2 separate regions of the Homo sapiens genome follow, and region 2 is linked to region 1. Evidence: promoter capture Hi-C in 16 types of primary human blood cells and fetal thymus (Javierre and others, 2016). All regions are on one chromosome and are shown on one strand. The core of a region is centred on a gene start or on the middle of the fragment in contact, and the rest is flanking DNA. Distances in the headings are between cores, read along the strand shown.

Evidence for each region. The method cuts DNA at HindIII sites, captures the fragments that hold promoters and counts their contacts. A CHiCAGO score of 5 or more calls a contact.
Region 2: a fragment that was not itself captured here is called in contact with the fragment with the promoter of NFS1 in region 1 in 6 of 17 cell types (activated CD4 T cells, naive CD8 T cells, total CD8 T cells and 3 more); the score reaches 9.1 in activated CD4 T cells.

What each region holds. Positions count from the first base shown.
Region 1 is chr20:35,696,289-35,701,807 of GRCh38, reverse strand. NFS1 (NFS1 cysteine desulfurase) reads left to right here and starts at 2,456. Exons shown (of 13, transcript NM_021100.5): 1 at 2,456-2,616; 2 at 3,218-3,327; 3 at 4,008-4,124; 4 at 5,348-5,431. The coding sequence starts at 2,520. It overlaps ROMO1 (reactive oxygen species modulator 1), which reads right to left and starts at 2,403. Exons shown (of 3, transcript NM_080748.3): 1 at 2,352-2,403; 2 at 2,045-2,175; 3 at 828-1,010. The coding sequence starts at 2,175. The coding sequence ends at 902. It overlaps RBM39 (RNA binding motif protein 39), which reads left to right. Exons shown (of 17, transcript NM_184234.3): 17 at 1-461. RefSeq lists enhancers at 1,779-1,998, 1,570-2,229, 2,230-2,889 and a silencer at 2,489-2,678. The HindIII fragment of the contact is 3,611 bases long and covers 1-3,341 here.
Region 2 is chr20:35,594,677-35,600,749 of GRCh38, reverse strand. It overlaps the pseudogene FER1L4. Among named protein-coding and RNA genes, the nearest start is that of SPAG4, 18 kb to the left of the region's middle. RefSeq lists an enhancer at 1,098-1,598. The HindIII fragment of the contact is 2,406 bases long and covers 2,921-5,326 here.

The DNA of each region.
Region 1 (5,519 bases), core at 1,207-3,706:
TGGCCAACACAGTGAAACCCCGTCTCTACTAAGAATACAAATTTTTTTTGTTTTGAGACAGAGTCTCGCTCTGTCGCCCAGGCTGGAGTGCAATGGCTCGATCTCAGCTCACTGCAACCTCCACCTTCTGGGTTCAAGCGATTCTCCTGCCTCAGCCTCCCGAGTAGCTGGGAATACAGGCGCGTGTCAACACACCCGGCTTAAGTTTTTGTATTTTTAGTAGAGACGGGGTGTCACCGTGTTACCCAAGATGGTCTCCATCTCCTGACCTTGTGATCCACCAGCCTTTGCCTCCCAAAGTGCTGGGATTACAGGCATAAGCCACCGCGCCCAGCCTAACAATACAAAATTTAGCTAGGCATGGTGGCACGTGCCTGTTATCACAGCTACTCGGGAGGCTGAGGCAGGAGAAACGCTTGAACACAGGAGGCAGAAGTTGCGGTAAGCCGAGATCGTGCCACTGCACTCCAACCTGGGCGACCAAGGAAACAACCAACCTCAGGATGAACATTGCTTTGGAAATAATGCAATGTGTGACCTTGAGGAAATTTCGGCTTATAAATCCATTTTTTGAAGTAGTTTTTCTCCTTTAAAATGGTGACCGTAGTAACAAGCACAGAGTTGTACTGAGTAATTAGTTGAATAGTATCTATGGAAAATACTAGACACTCCCAAGTTTTCCAATTTTGGATTAAGAGAGGCAGGCCTTGTGAAAGAGATACTAACCCTAGTCATTACGTTAGTCCATCTCTTTAGTGCAGAAGATCCTTGGCAAAGCTGGATAATAGGCTGAGAGAAGAATATTCCTTTAAGAGAGGGACACTGACTACTCAAAGACTTTCTTTTATTAGTACATGGGCTGGGATTGATGGGAAGGGACAGATGTAGTTGGCAACCATGGTTAGCATCGGATGCCCATCCCAATGGCCATGAATGTGCCAAAGGTGCCGCCACTCTGCATCATGGTTTTCCCAATGCCGCCCATCAGCTCTCGACCCCGCATTCCGATCCTGAGGAGGAAACCAAGATGGAGCTATTTGGTAACAAAAATATCAGAAAGAGTATTAACTGCTCCTTTCCAATTTTTTGCTAACACTAGTCTAGCAACCCCTACATCTGATTTTCCACTTACTGGATATTATATCTTACTACCTGGGGTGGGTAATGAGAAGGAAAAAGATCCATCTGGGTCTCCAGGGTATTTTTCTGGTGGATGTCGTATTAACTGCCTTCAGTTTGTGGGAGGCAGCAGATGCAGTGTAAAATACATAGAGAAACCAGCTTTTTTGACTGGTGTTGCCTGCAGTTTAAGACCCAATAAAGACATCTGTCTTTTAGTTTCTTGGTGTTAATGATTTTGGAGTAAGGTGGGGGTTCAAGAGTCAGCTCTACAATTTACACATAGTGTCAAGTGTAAAATGGGCATCTCAACATTATTTACAGGATTTTGAAAACTACAGTATTTAGCACAGTGCTTAACATAGAGTAAGTGCTCTGTAAATGATAATTTACAATCTAGGGATATGGCAATAACAGCCTCTAAATGTGAAAATGACCTTTAGAGTGTAAAGTTTAACTGCTTTATCTCTGTATCCTGTATCCAGAATAGTAAAACCGCTGAACGAGTTTCTTTCCTTATGCGCAATTGGAAAAAAAAATAAAAGCAACAGTAGTAACTAGTTACTGAGCACTTAATATGTGCCAGATGCTGTGCAAAGTGTGCTGATCGAATTTTTACAACTCTATAAGTTAGATGCTACTGTCTTCATTCTACACTTAAGGAAACCCAGTCTCCAACTTGCCTAAAGTCACCGAACCAGTAAGAAAAGGGCCAGAAAGCATTTTGACTCTAAAGCTCAAATTCTTAAGCACTGACGCTTCCAACCTGACTTTACAGATTGAAGGTGGTTTGGAATGAGTCTGGCTCGCGAGGGGACAGAGAGGGAAGTCGAAAGAAGGAGGCTGTGTTCAGGCTCCAGGCCGAATGGGGCAGGGCCGGAAGGTCTGGTTGTCCTGCCCAGAGATCACCGCCCGCGCCCCTCACCTGAGACAGGAAAAGGTGCCGAAGAGCGCCCCGGCCGCCATGCCCACGGCGCAACCCATCACGAAGCCCATTTTGACACGGTCGAAGCAGCTTGGCTGGGACTGTCCGTAGGGACCCACGGCCACCGGCATCTGCGGGGGATAGGAAAGTGTGGGCCCAGGCGCTGGCCCAAGAGTCGGGCGGGGACGGAAGCGGTAGGCTGGGAAGTGGGCCCAAGGGCTCAGGGGAAGTAAGGGAAGGAAAATCAGTGGGTAGCCCGACTCCACCACCCTCTTCGCGTTCCGGCCCCGCGTCGCCCGGCGCCTACCTCACCTCGCTCGCGGGCTGGGTCGCTCAGCTCTACGTCTCTCACGGAAAACGACGGGGAGGGCGCTCGCGGCCCGATGAATCGCTTCCGGAGCGCCGGGCAGCACTTCCGGGAGCCTGGGGCCCAGGACTGCAGCGGCTTCGGAAGGTGGGCTCTGCCAGCGGGACCATGCTGCTCCGAGCCGCTTGGAGGCGGGCGGCAGTGGCGGTGACAGCGGCTCCAGGGCCGAAGCCCGCGGCGCCCACTCGGGGGCTGCGCCTGCGCGGTACGCTCGGGTCCCGCTCTCCGGGAGGCGCGGACCTGTCCCCTCCGCGCGGCGACGCAACTGAATATTCCGGAGCCTTCCTGTCCACCCTGCTGCCCAGACCCTCTGACCCTTCTCTCAAATGACACATCCCTCAAACTTTCTTAGGCGGGTCCCCGAACGGTTGACCCCGGCGCACCACCCCTCGCACCCTGCGCGACAGGCCCCCAGAGCCGTGGAGGCGCGTCCTTCAGACCGCTCCTGGCCAAGTTACAGATGCTGCTCCGGGCTCCCGTGCAGACCGTTACCTTCGGTCAGAAGGGACTGCACCTACTCTGGCTCCACGTTCCTTCTAAACGTCTTTGCCCTTTAGAGCCTTCCTTCCTACGATACCATTTGAATATCAACTCAACACCCCCTCCAGGAACCCTCTCTCCCTCTCCCTTACCTCCTTTTACAGCGTGTCAGGTATCTGGTGTTGTTTTCTTTCCATTGAGATTCGACCCTAGCATCCCTTACACTTATCTCACCTCCAGCCAGATTTTTCCTTCTGCCCTTTGGATGCCATGCGTTCATAGTTGCCTTCGGTCTTACTTGGCTACTCCGTTCCATTTTTTATCAGTTGGAGACCGTGCTCCTCAGTCTGCGGTTCCCGCAGATACAGCCGCTGCCCCGGAGGTGGGGCCAGTGCTGCGACCTCTCTATATGGATGTGCAAGCTACAACTCCTCTGGTAAGGATGAAGCTTTTCCCAAGGCTGCTTATAGGAAGTAAATGATGGGCGTGATCACGCAAAGAAATGGCTGAATCCCTGGAGAAGTGAGAGCCGTGAAGGTGTGCTGGAAAAAGCACTGAGCGAGGAGTCGGGAGGCTTAAATTCGAGGCCACTGGCATTGGCTTTACTACTCACTAGCAATTGACCTTGGTCAGATCACTTCAGCGCAGGCTCTATAGTATTAGTTAAAAGCATGGGCTCTGGAATGAGCAGAACGGCCACTTAGTAACTGTGTGAACTTGGACAAGTATTAAACGGGTTAAAAGACTAATGCAAGTTTTCACCAATGTGTGACCAGGGGTGTTTGCCTAGGCCCTGTCCTGTCCCAGCCCCTTATAGATCACATTACCTGGCAGGAATGGAAACACCAGCAGAAACAGATGTCGGAACAAGGCAGTGTTTGTAGACTACCTGAGGGGAGGCAGAACAATCCGAGTTGGGATGGGTTGTGAGTGGGAGTGTATTAGGTTGATATTTGGTGGGTAGTTTTGTGGGAACAAAAGAATGTTTGAGGCCTCCTCTAGGCAGTGCCTGAGGGGTTGAGAGTGTCTTAAGGCAGGGTGGCCAGGTCTGAGGGGTGGAGTGGGACCTGAATTGACGATGCGCTCAAGGAAAATGATCTGTTCTGTTGTGTTCAGGACCCCCGGGTGCTTGATGCCATGCTCCCTTACCTAATCAACTACTATGGGAACCCACACTCCCGGACACATGCTTATGGCTGGGAGAGTGAGGCAGCCATGGAACGTGCTCGTCAGGTTAGTACACAGGAGTCTAGGAGGTTCTAAGGTCAAAGAGGGGCAGTGGCCTGTGGGAGGCATTTCTTTCTTGGTAGGTGTGCATGGAGGTAGAAATGGTTTTGGATTCTTTCTGGAAGAGATTCAAAGAGCAGCCTTGGAGTTTGACTGCAGGCATTTGATTGGTTCCCATATTTCCTGGCTAAATGACTTGGGCAAGTTATCTAATTTCTTTGAGCCTTATTTTCCTCATTTAAAACAGAGATTGTGGTAGTTTCTACTCTGTAGGGTTACTGGGTGGATTAAATAAGACAATGCTGATAAAGTGTTTATTACCACAACATCTGTAAGTAAGAAGTACTATAAATAGTAAGAGCTCAATAGTTCTTTTTTTTTTTTTTTATGAGATGGAGTTTTCACATTTGTTGCCCAGACTGGAGTGCAGTGGCGCACGATCTTGGCTCACTGCAACCTCTGCCTCCCGGGTTCAAGTGATTCTGCTGCCTCAGCCTCCCAAGTAATTGGGATTACAGGCACACGCCACCATGCCTAGCTAATATTTTTGTATTTTTATTTATTTATTTATTTACTATTATTTGAGACAGAGTTTTGCTCTTGTTACCCAGGCTGCAGTGCAGTGGCACGATCTCGGCTCACTGCAACCTCTGCCTCCCGGGTTCAAGCAGTTCTCCTACCTCAGCCTCCCAAGTAGCTGGGATTACAGGCATGCGCCACCACACCCGGGTAAATTTGTATTTTTAGTAGAGACGGGGTTTCTCCATGTTGGTCAGGCTGGTCTTGAATTCCCGACCTCAGGTGATCCACCTGCCTCAGCCTCCCAAAGTGCTGGGATTACAGGCTTGAGCCACCATGCCCGGCCTAATATTTTTGTATTCTTAGTAGAAATGGAGTTTCACCATGTTGGCCAGGTTGGTCTCGAACTCCTGACCTCAGGTGATCTTTCCACCTCGGCCTCCCAAAGTGCTGGGGTTACAGGAGTGACCCACCACACCTGGCCAATAGTTCATTAAAAAAAAAAAGTTATTATTTTGCATTGGGCTGGAAAAGAGCCTGGGATCTGGGATATAACTAGAATCTGATTCTTGTAGGTGCAGACCTTCATCCAGGGCAATTTGGTGGAATGCAGTGGAGCTCTTCTTGCTCCAGGGCTGTCCCACCTGTGTCTGCAGCTCTATTTCTGCCTGGGGAACTGATGTTATATATCTCTGTTTCTTGGCTTGCAGCAAGTAGCATCTCTGATTGGAGCTGATCCTCGTGAGATCATTTTTACTAGTGGTGCTACTGAATCCAACAACATAGCAATTAAGGTAAGAGAAGGGAACCAGAGGGTGTATGTGGGCTTTCCTGACCTAGGAGATAGTGTCCCTCCATCATTTGGACTCGTATATGTATTTC
Region 2 (6,073 bases), core at 2,874-5,373, 100 kb after region 1:
TGAGCCTCCCCAGGCCCAGCAGGGGTCCACGTTGTCCCGGCTCACCCGAAAGAAGAAAAAGAAAGCCAGAAGGGATCAGACCCCAAAGGCGGTTCCGCAGCACTTGGACGCCAGCCCCGGTGCCGAGGGGCCTGAGATCCCCCGTGCCATGGAGGTGGAGGTGGAGGAGCTGCTGCCGCTGCCAGAGGTGGGGGCTGGGGGGTAGCAAAGGGGGCGGGGTCACCTCAGCTCTGGAAGGTGGAATCCACTCTCAGGCATTAAACACCACGACAGGGGTCTCAATTTGGGGGCCTGGGCGAAGAGTGAGGTGTGTGCCCACATGGGCTCTGGTATATGCACACATGTTGTGGGAGAGAGGACCCATACCCAGGGCCAATGCTGGGGCCGGGAGGAGGGAGAGGGAGTAAGAAACCTGCAGTGACTTCCAAGCCTTGGTCGCACTTCTTTCTGTGGGCAATGCGGCCAAGCATAGTCCAGGCTGTTCCCTGGGAGAGTAGGTGCTGACTCCAGCCTGATGGCCTCCCCCAGAATGTCCTGGCGCCCTGTGAAGATTTCCTGCTTTTCGGTGTGCTCTTCGAGGCCACCATGATCGACCCCACCGTGGCCTCCCAGCCCATCAGCTTCGAGATCTCCATTGGTGTGTGGCCTAGCCGAACCCCTGAGTGCCATTTCAGACCTTAGAACCCTGGAAGGGGTGTTGACTTTCAGTAAGGGGCAGGTTCTGACTTCTGTTGAGGCAGAGGTGGTTGAGGGGGGGTTCCAGCCCTCAGCCTGGCGCCCACTGACCCTTGCTGCTCTGGGGCAGGTCGCGCAGGCCGTCTGGAGGAGCAATTGGGCCGAGGGTCCAGGGCTGGGGAGGGAACTGAGGGTGCAGCCGTGGAGGCTCAGCCTCTGCTGGGAGCCAGGCCAGAGGAGGAGAAAGAGGAGGAAGAACTGGGGACCCATGCTCAGCGGCCTGAGCCCATGGACGGCAGTGGGTGAGTGCTGCCGGTGGCTGGAAGGGGGGGTTTGGGAGGTCTCCAGGAACCCAGAATGCCCGCGAAGCCTCCTCTCCATCTGCCAGGCCATACTTCTGCTTGCCCCTCTGTCACTGCAAGCCATGCATGCATGTGTGGAGTTGCTGGGAGGACCACACCTGGCGCCTGCAGAGCAGCAACTGCGTGCGCAAAGTGGCCGAGAGGCTGGTAAGGGCAAGGCTGGCGCCCACAGGGAGAGACCGGGCCGTAGGGACGCCTAGGACACTGCAGCCTTTGAAGGAAGCTCTGCAGTGGGGCTAATGGGCAGGCACTAGAGAGCCAGCACCTTGCTGGTGCAAGGCCAGGGGGGCAAGGGCCAAAGAGCACAGCTTCTGGGCGAACCGAGGATGCCAGGAGTTGTGGGAGGACAGAGTTTCAGAATTGGTGGACCCAGGAAGGGACTGGATGAAGGAGATGGGTAGAGGTACGGATGGTGGGGCCGCACATTTGGTGGAGCCAGTAGCGGGCTAGAAAGATGGAGCCATCAACCTGATGGAGCCAAAGAAGGGCAGGCCAAGAGGTGTGGTCGTGAGTGGGTGGGGCCTTGGGTGGGGGTGTGGTCTACAAGAGGTCTGAGTCAGGGACCCTCAAGACTCTGACCCTCTCCCACGTTGCACAGGACCAGGGGCTGCAGGAGGTTGAGAGACTGCAGCGCAAGCCGGGGCCTGGCGCCTGTGCACAGCTCAAGCAGGCACTGGAAGTACTGGTGGCTGGGAGCAGGTGAGCTGAGAGCCACTCCTACTGCTGCCTGTACTTGGGCCAACTCCAGGGCAAGGGAGACTCTCGGTGGCTGTCTGGACCCAAGGGCAGCTTGCAGCTGCATTTGCTCAGCACCTTACAGAAAAATGAGAAGACAATTATTCCTATCCAGGGAGCTGATGAGATTATTGGGGGTTAGGCTTCCCCTGATTCTCTGGCACCTCAGCTGTTTTCCATCTCCATGAGTTCCCTTTCCCACGCTCCTAGAGGCTTATCCCGTGTCTCTTCAAACCTCGCCTCCTTTCTTTCACACTTGTTCCTGCTAATCACCTTCCCACACCCAGTCTACCTCCTTGCCGGCTTCTGCATCCATCTGCTCTCCTCCTTTCCTGCTCCAGTGACCACAGCTGTGATCTGGATTTCATCACTGGAGGAATTAGTTCTGTAATTGTCAATTTTCTCCCCTTCATCATTGATTGGTCCCTAGTTACCAGGTCATTGCTGTAACCACATAAACATGTTCGGCCAGGTGCGGTGGCTCACACCCGTAATCCCAGCACTTTTGGAGTCTGAGGCGGGCAGATCATTTGAGGTCAGGAGTTCAAGACCAGACTGGCCAACATGGCGAAACCCAGTCTCTACCAAAAAAATACAAAAATTAGCCGGGCATAATGGTGGGTACCTCCCAGCTACTTGGGAGGCTGAGGCAGGAGAGTCACTTGAACCTGGCAGGTGGAGGTTGCAGTGAGCCAAGATTGCGCCACTGCACTCCAGCCTGGGTGACTGAGCAAGACTACGTCTCAAAAACAAACAAACAAGAAAACAAAAAAAAAACATGTTCTAGTTACTTCCATCTTTGACCTTCACTACTGCCCTGAATTCCATTACCTGCTCCAGGTACTTAAGTGATTTTCAGATCCTCTTCTCAAAAGGGTTCTTTATTTGATAACTATTTATGGCACTTACTATGCCAGACACTGTTTTAGGCACAGGAATATCAGTGAAAAAGCATTCCTGCCCACAAAAATCCCTGAAGTTGGCCAGGCACAATGGCTGATGCCTGTAGTCCCAGCTACTTGTGGGAGGCTGAAGTGGGAAGATCTTGAGCCCAGGAGTTCAAGGCTGCAGTGAACCATGATTGCGCCACTGCACTCCAGTCTGGGTGACAGAATGGGACCCTGACTTTAAAAAAAAACCCTGAAGCTTACATTTGGGTGTAGAGGTTGGGGAAGGGTGGAGACATGTGAAATAAGCATGTAAACAGATAGAAAAATACTAAGTAGGATAAGTGTTAAGAAAGAACGCGAAGCAAGGAAGCATTAGAAAGAGGTACTGCAATTTCAGAAAGGGTGTGGAGGGGAGGCCACCGTGAAGGTGACATGAAGCTGGAGGAGAAAGCCTGCCTGTAATGGTGTTCCAGGTGGAGGGGACAGCATGCCTGGAGTGTTTGAGGAGGAGCACAGAACCAGTGTGACTGCAGCAGTGTGACATAGTAGAAGAGGCTGGAGGAGGCCAGGGGAAGGAGGATGATGGTGGGGAGGGACAGATCCTGTGGGAGCCTCACAAGCCATTTTAATGACTTTGGCTTCTTCTCTGAGTGAAATGGGGGGGGAGGGGCAGTGAATGTTTTGAAAAGGAAAAAGATACACTCTAACACATAGATCCTTAAAAGGGATCAGTGGGGGAGGAAGCAGGGAGATTAGTAAAGGGGCTATTGTGATAATCCACGTGACAGGTGGCGATGAACTGATCTAGGGGATGGTTGCAGTGGAGATGGAGTGCTGTGAATGGATTCCAGAGAAAATTTGGAATTGGGGGTGATACCTCAGGACTTGCTAAGATTTTGGCTTGTGGGCTGGGCATGGTGGCTCACACCTGGAATCCCAGCACTTTGGGAGGCCAAGGTGGGAGGATCAATTGAGCCCAGGGGTTTGAAACCAACCTGAACAATATAGGAAGACCTTGTCTCTATGAAAAATACAAAAGTTAGCTGGGTGTGGTGGTGCACACCTGTAGTCCCAGCTACTCAGGAGGCTGAGATGGGAGGATGGCTTGAGTCCAGGAGTTTAAGGCTGCACCAACTGCATAGTTATGCAAGCCAAAATCTTCTTTTTTTGGAAAAAAGAAAAAAATCTGTTTTCAACAGAAAACAAAGGAGAAGGTCTGATGGAAGCAGGGATGAGGTGGGATCTGAGGGAAGGCAGATAGTAGGAGCTCAGTTTTGGACATGTTAACTGTGAAATTCTTATTGAATTGTAAGTGGACATGTGTGGTAGGCAGTTAGCTATATGAGTTGAGTTCTGGGGAGAATTCTAGGCTGGAAATGTCAATTTGGGAACTATCATTATGTAGATGGAGCTGGATAACAGCATTAACAGAGCACAGAAAAGAGAAATCTGAGAACCTGGAGCGTTCCAGCATTTAGAGGCAGGGAGGAAGCAGGGACTCAGCCAAGGACCCTGATCAGGAGAGGCAGTGAGGTAGGAGGCTGTAGGTGGTCACTTTTCTGTTCTCACCATGCTCAACCTTTCAGCGTCAGTAGACACAGTTGTTTCACCATTTTGGCCAGGCTGGTCTCGAACTCCTGACCTCAAGTGATTCACCGCCTCGGCCTCCCAAAGTGCGGGGATTACAGGCCTGAGCCACCACACCTGGCCAGATTCTGGATATTTTTTGAAGGTAGAGCATAAAGAATTTGCTGATGAATTGATGTGGAATAAGAGAGAAAGAGCAGTGAGAGATGACTCGAAAGTTCTGAGGTGAAATAGGGTTTTTGTTTTGTTTTGTTTTGTTTTGCGGGGGGGATCATTGGAAAGTATGCATTTGGCTTGGGCATGTAATGTTCAAGCTATACGTTAGCCAAGCTGGTGGAGACGTCTGAGGCTTCAATGTGCTTAGGAATCCCCGAGGGCATAAACGCAGCTTCTGATTCAGCAGGGCCTGGGGTGGGGCTGAGGTCCTACAGTTTTAAATAGCCTGCAGGTGATACCAGTGCTGTTGGTCCATGGGCCACACCTGGGGTAGCCAGGGTAGTAGGTGGTTAAGTATTAGCGAGCTCTGGAGCTCAAGAGCAAGGCTGGCCTTAATGATTTTTGGGAGTGGTCCAAATAGAGATAGGCCAGCTTTGCAGGAGAAAGGGTGCCTCTTCAGAGCCCAAGACTGAGAGGGCTATGAGGGAGGCTGGGGGTGGGAGGTCAGCTCAGAGCAAGTGGCCCCAAGGTCACTGTCCTTCTCCTTTCCTTTGATTCCTGTCTGCTGTGCACATCCCTGCTCACTGCAGACAGTTTTGCCACGGTGCCGAGCGCAGGACGATGACCCGGCCCAATGCCCTGGATCGATGCCGAGGGAAACTCCTGGTGCACAGCCTGGTACGGCCTCGGGAAGGGACTCAGGGGCGCCTAGCTGGGGCCTTCCGCTCATGCTGTCTTTTTGCCCTCCCAGAACCTTTTGGCTAAGCAAGGACTGCGACTTCTACGCGGCCTGAGACGGCGCAATGTGCAAAAGAAGGTGGCACTGGCCAAGAAGCTCCTGGCAAAACTGCGCTTTCTGGCTGAGGAGGTAATGCCTCACTCACCCCACTTTCCTACCCTGTACACCCTTTTCCCTAAGCTTTTGAACCATTCCAGAGGCCTCGGGCAGGTGTGATTTAACATTTTTCCTTTGGAATGATGCCAGGGCTGGGACTAATTGCTGTGGGCATAGGACCAAGATTCATTTGCAGTAGCTAAGGGTGAGGACAAGAGTTCTAGAATCCAGCAGAGACCCAGGGAACATTCAGGATTTCTTTGGATGAAGATTTGAGAGTAGGCTGCCTTGAGCATGACCTCCCTTGTCTGAAGCACTAAATATATACATACATATATATATATATATATATATATATATATATAACATATTGTGCTGCTGATGGGTATGTGAGATGTTCCCAATGGGTTGTGATTAGAAACAATGCTTCCGAGACCATTTTGGTACATGTCCTGGTGCTTTTCTATGGCAGTGGTTCTCAAACTTTTTGGTCTCGGGACAGGTCTCAGATTACACCACTGCACTCCAGCCTGGGTGACAGAGACTCTATCTCAAAAAAAAAAAAAAAAAAAAAAATGGAGATGGGGTCTTGCTGTGTTGACCAGGCTGGTCTCAAACTCCTGAGCTCAAGCAGTCCTCCTGCCTTGGCCTTCCAAAGTGTTGGGATTACAGGTGTGAGCTGCCATGTCCAGTCACAAAAATCTTCGAGTGTTGGCAAGCTGTCAAGCTCACAATGGCAGATACAAGACACATACTTTTTCTGAAATTGTAATTTTATTCTGCCTCCTGGGTTCAAGTGATTCTCCTGCCTCAGCATCCCAAAGTGCTGGGAT